Linked DNA regions of Homo sapiens: region 2 is linked to region 1. The links are contacts of gene promoters, found by promoter capture Hi-C in blood cells and fetal thymus (Javierre and others, 2016). All regions are on one chromosome and are shown on one strand. Each heading gives the region's core, a stretch centred on a gene start or on the middle of the fragment in contact. The rest is flanking DNA. Distances are from core to core; before and after follow the strand shown. Region 1 holds the start of ABHD17C (abhydrolase domain containing 17C, depalmitoylase). Region 2 has its middle 22 kb from the start of MESD.

Evidence for each region. The method cuts DNA at HindIII sites, captures the fragments that hold promoters and counts their contacts. A CHiCAGO score of 5 or more calls a contact.
Region 2: a contact is called between a fragment that was not itself captured here and the fragment with the promoter of ABHD17C in region 1, in 2 of 17 cell types (M1 macrophages and M0 macrophages). The highest score is 6.9, in M1 macrophages.

Annotation. Positions count from the first base shown.
Region 1 is chr15:80,693,971-80,696,670 of GRCh38, reverse strand. ABHD17C (abhydrolase domain containing 17C, depalmitoylase) reads right to left here and starts at 1,361. Exons shown (of 3, transcript NM_021214.2): 1 at 652-1,361. The coding sequence starts at 1,241. RefSeq lists silencers at 538-597, 1,018-1,067, 1,158-1,577, 1,598-1,707, 1,728-1,887 and 1 more and an enhancer at 758-827. The HindIII fragment of the contact is 4,321 bases long and covers 1-2,700 here.
Region 2 is chr15:80,966,586-80,969,285 of GRCh38, reverse strand. It overlaps a transcript of MESD not described here. Among named protein-coding and RNA genes, the nearest start is that of MESD, 22 kb to the left of the region's middle. RefSeq lists an enhancer at 2,169-2,684. The HindIII fragment of the contact is 1,073 bases long and covers 831-1,903 here.

The DNA.
Region 1 (2,700 bases), core at 112-2,611:
ACTTATCCTGGACTGTTATGGAGGCCGTGTGGAAGGTGCCAGGCCCACAGCTACCAGCTAACTTCCTGCCCCACAGTGCCACTACTTTGCCCCACCAGGAGGCAAACTCCCCGCTCCACCTGACGCTCCAGCTGTTTCCAAGGTTGCCCAGACATTGTCCTGCCCGCACTTTACAACCAGAAAGTCTTTTAGAGGCCATCCTGTCTCGCCCACTGACTTTACAGGGAAGGAAACTGAGTCTAGAAACCCATGTGCCTTGCCCAAGGTCACTTCAGCTCGTACAAACGAAACTCGAACCAAGTTGTTTCTTTCTGCCCGGTACTTAAGCACCCACACTCTGCCACTCGCGGTGACCGGAGCCACAAAAGACCCAGCCGGTGGGCCGGCGACACACAGGCGAGCCAAAGCAGGCAAAATTCTCTGAGTCCGAGCTCTCCAGGAACCTGAAGGCTGGCGCGGTTTTTGGAGAGGGTGGGAGCAAGCCAGGGTGGGACAAGAAAAGCGAATTTACGGCGGCCAAGGGGCTCTCCGCTGGCCCTCAGCCCCGGAGGAGGGGCCCCTCTCCTGGCAGGCCGCCCCAGGGGCCCCAAGAGACCCCCACCCCGCCTCCCCACAGCTGGAAGTCAGGCCTGGCGACCCCGGCAGGCTCACCGGGTGCGCAGCGCCTGCCACGCGGCGTCGATGTCGGCGTAGAGGTTCTTCTCGGAGGGCTTGCCCGAGCTGACGCCGTATCCCGAGTAGTCGTAGGAGAAGATGTTGCAGTTGATGCGGGAGCCGAGGCCAATGTAGAAGCTGCACATCTGGCCCAGGTCCACGGCGTTGCCGTGCGAGAAGAGCAGCGTGTAGCGGCTGGAGGGCGCGCAGCGCACGAACATGCAGCCGAGCCGGTTGTCCCGGGCCGTGCGCGAGAAGAAGACCTCGACGGCGTCCAGCTCGCGCTGCGAGTACTGCCAGTCGGCGCGCTCGCTGAGGTGCAGGCTGCACGCACCGGGCCCCGCGCCCGCGCCCTCCTCGGGCTGCTGCGGTGCCGGCTGGGCCGCGGCGGCGGCGGCGGTAGCCTGGGCCGGGGCCGGGGCGGACGCGCCGGCGCCGCGCTGCTCCGGCGCCAGCACCGTGTAGGTGGGCTCGGGCGGCAGGAAGGCCAGCTTGGCGGCGATGCGGCTCGGGCAGGGCGGGCAGCAGAAGAGCCAGCACAGCTCACCCAGCGAGAAGCCGTTCATCCTGGGGCCTGGCTCGGGCATCGGGACGGCCTGGTGCCCGCCGCCGGCCCGGCTGGCTGGCTGGCTGGCTGGCCCGGGAGGACGGAGGACGGACGCGCGGCGAGGGAGCTGGCAGGCGAGCGCGGAGGGCGGCTGCAGCCCGCCCGCCCGGCGGCAGGAGGAGGCGGAGGCGGAGGAGGGCAGGAGGCGGGGCCGGCCCGGCGGGCGCGGCGCTCGGAGCCCGGGCGGGTCAGCGGCGGCCCCGGAACCCAGGCGAGGCGCGGGCGGCCCGGGCCCGCGCGCGGCACACAAAGCCGGCGGCGGCGTCCATGGCCGGCTCGTGCGCGCCGCCCCCCGCTCCCGTTCCCGCTCCCGCACGCCCGCCGCCGCCGCCGCCGCCGCCGCCACTTCCGGGTTACCGCGCGGCGGCGCCGCCGCTGGGACGCGGCGCAGAGCCGGGCATCGGGGCGGGGCGCTGCGGGCAAGGGCGCGGGCACCTTCCCCGGCCTGGGAAGCACCTTCTCGACCTGCGGCCGACGGGGGCTTCCAGGCGGCTCCGGGGCCCGGAGAAGCTGGGTGCCGGGGCTGGGGGCTCTGCGCCCGGACAGCTGGGCCGATCTGCAGAGGGGACCCTGGAGGGGGTGCATGTGTCCCGGGGTGGACCGCTCCCCTCCCCTCCCCCTGGGATTCCCTCCCCCAAATCCAGGTTTCTCCCGTGGATGGAGGTTCTTGGGAGTCTACTGAAAAGGAAACTAAGGGGTGGACAAGAGTTGGAATGTGCCCGAAATATTTGGCTCTCGTGTGTGCTGCTTTCTGAACTGGCTCAGTACCAAAAGTTCTCAGCACCGTAAGGGGTACCGGGGTTGTGGGATAGGGTGGTCATCAGTGTGTTTCTTATTAGGAGAGGCTGTTTCTGTATAGGTAGCAACAGCGTTTCCTTTCTAAGGGCATGGTTTTACCCTTAGTACATTTCTGTATCTATAAAAGTCAGCTGTTAGAACAGGAGGGTACTGTATTTAGCAACAAACCATGTTGAGGTTGTCATTTCTAATCCCACGTGTGGCAGATTTTCCGGTAGTAAGTATATACTAGGTATCGTTTACAGTGTTTGTGTCTCTAGAGTTGTTTTGGGTCCAGGATTTTTCAGTGGTCTTAGTCATGAACGATTCTTATACTGCTTTAAATCTACTGTAATCTTGGCAGCCACCTTTACATGATTTTTCAAATATAACTCTCGGTGCCTTGAAACTGTGCTCTGGTGCCAGTTTCCACAGAGCCTTCTATACTTCCTTTTTCCCGCCTGATTTGGCAGCTGAAGAATTCCCTTTCAGGAACTGACAGGAGATACCCTTCCTGGACTGCCAGCAGGGCAGCTAGAGACTGGGAGGTTGGCACAATCCCTACGCTGGGTCTGTTGTTTTAACTCACAGATGTCCTGAGAATTTTACCTTTCGTTGTGACTTTCCACAGGACGAATATTTTGAGCACCGTCATCTAAATG
Region 2 (2,700 bases), core at 118-2,617, 270 kb before region 1:
GTGTGCAAGCTCTGGACATCCTTACCTAACTGTGACATGCTACCCACTGTGTGCAGGTCTTTACATACTTTATTTCATTTACTCTCATTTTATTTTCAGTTAGGGTCTCACTCTGTTGCTCACGCTGGAGTGCACTGGCACGATGGCAGCTCACTGCAGCCTCGACCTCCAGGCTCAAGTGGTCCTCCCACCTCAATCTCCTGGGTAGCTGGGACCACAGGTGTGCACCATCACACCCAGCTAATTTTTTAATATTTTTTGTAGAGACAGGGTCTCCCTATGTTGCCCTGGCTGGTCTTGAACTCCTGGGTTCAAGCAATCCTCCCACCTTGACCTCCCAAAGTGTTGGGATTACAGGTGTGAACCACTGTGCCCGACCTCATTTACCCTTCACAACCCCACAAGGTTGGTATTAGTTAACATTTACTATGTGGCCCTTTGAAGCACAGTTCTGGTGTTGGACTTCCCAGCTCTGCATTTTATTAGCTGTATCATGTTGGACAAGTTATTTAAGGACCTCACTCATCTAAGCCTGTAGGTGCTAATAAAAGTTCCCATTTCAGAGAAGTATTATAAGGATTAAATGAGCAAGTCCCTGTGAAGCACTTAACACAGCTTTCTTTTTTATTTTATTTTTAAAGTAAAGAGGTGGGGTCTCACTATTTTACCTTGGCTGGTCTTAAACTCCTGAGCTCAAGCGATCCTCCCACCTTGGCCTTCCAAAGGAGTACAGGTGTGAGCCACTGTGCCTGGCCAACAGAGCTTTCAGTACATGTTAACTATTATCATTTGTGTGTGTGTTTTGTGCTTCAGGTGACTAGACAGAAGCTTGTAGGGGTTAAGCCCCTTGCTGAGAGTCACAGCTAGGAGAAGGCAGGATAACATCCTGCCTGGGCTGTTTTCTTCTGGAGGCACTGCAGTTTTCACTGTGGCTTGACACTCTAAGGGAGGGGCTGGGATGGAATTCTACATGGGCCACAGAGATTGCTCCAGAAGGAGAATGGCCACCTTGCCCAGTGTAGGGTATGCCAGAGCAGAGCGGGTCAGCTTCCTTCCAGGCAGAAACATCTGCCGTTCCCACCACCTTGGTGCTCTGCTCTCAGATACCTGCATGGCTGAGGACCTGCTCTCAGGTGAGATGGTTTGCCCTGAAAGGGGCAGAGCTGCCAGAGTCCAAGCGGTCTGCAGGAGACTGCAGTTTGACCATGCTGCTTGCTGGTACAAGGAAATTTTTGGTAGGCAGATTTCAGGAGGTCCCACGCAAGTGTCACAAGCCAGAAACTTGAGATGTTGGACCCCTTTCCACTTGATCCAGCATCTGGGAAAACCTGAGCCTGCAGTTGGGGCCACTTGGCCAACTCTCCATAGATCTTGTTGAATCAGCTTAAACCTGGGCTTGTCAAATTCTGGATCTCAGCAGCCCAACTTGCAATTTTAAATCTTTGACCACTGTTCCCTGGCAGACCTAGGGCAATTTTTGTTTTCTCCAGAGAAGTCTGCCGAAGTTTCTGAGGTGAAGTTTCCAAGCTGATGAATTGGAAGCCCAGACTTGGCAGCTCTCAGCCAAGGAGGGCTGCAGTTGGTGGAATGTGAAGAATGCCCAGGGACATCTGGTCTGCCTTGCATCTGTTTTTCAGGCCAGCCCGCATTCTTCCTGCAGGAGAGAGCTTCAGCCATAGGCCTAGAAACACTGGGGCCCCTTTGATCCATGCCTCCTACCTCAGCTCCAAGTTGGACGACATTGAGTGCCATACTTGCTTTCCCTGGGCCTTACCTCTTCTATAAACAGGGTGGCAAGTCCTGCCAGGCCTGGGATTTACATGCCAGGGTCTGGAAGAAACAAGACAATAGGGATCCTTATTCTAATGCAAAGGAGGTCCCTGACTCCCTTAGGATAGAAGCTTCCTTACAAATTCTCTGAGGTCCTTGCTCTAAATTAAAACTCCCTGAGGGCTCCTACTTCTTTTCTTTTCTTTTTTCTTTTTCTTTTTTTGAGATGGAGTTTCACTCTTGTTGCCCAGGCTGGAGTGCAATGGTGTGATCTCGGTTCACCACAACCTCCACCTCCCGGGTTCAAGTGATTCTCCTGCCTCAGCCTCCCAAGTAGCTGGGATTACAAGCATGCACCACCATGCCCAGCTAATTTTGTATTTTTAGTAGAGGCGGGGGTTTCTTCATGTTGGTCAGGCTGGTCTCGAACTCCTGACCTCAGGTGATCTGCTCACCTAAGCCTCCCAAGTGCTAGGATTACAGGAGTGAGCCACTGCGCCCGGCCAAGGGCTTCTACTTCTAGTTTTAAAATCAATGCCTTGAGCGCATCACCTCGATGGGCCTCAGTTGGAATGGGCCAGCATTTCCCAGAGGAATTTAACCAGCGGAACTGCCCAATAAGGAGGAGTTGGCCACTTCAAGCCAGTTATTTGGGCTTTTGAGATGCAGAATCAGGAGGAAGAGAAGAGGTGCAAAGGTTGTGGAGCAGAGAGGCAGCAGGGTATGGAAGAAGAGGGCCTGAATCAAATACACACACCCACAGTGTACAGTGGCAACTATGCAAGGTGCTTGTAGCTTGCAACAGAGGGATTTTCCAAGGGAGGCCAGAGAAAAGCTTCCTGGAGCAGGTGGCCACTAAGCTGAGATTTGAGCAGGCATGAGTGGACACAGAGGCAGCCTGGAAGCTGGGGGCAGTGGCACAGCAGGAGG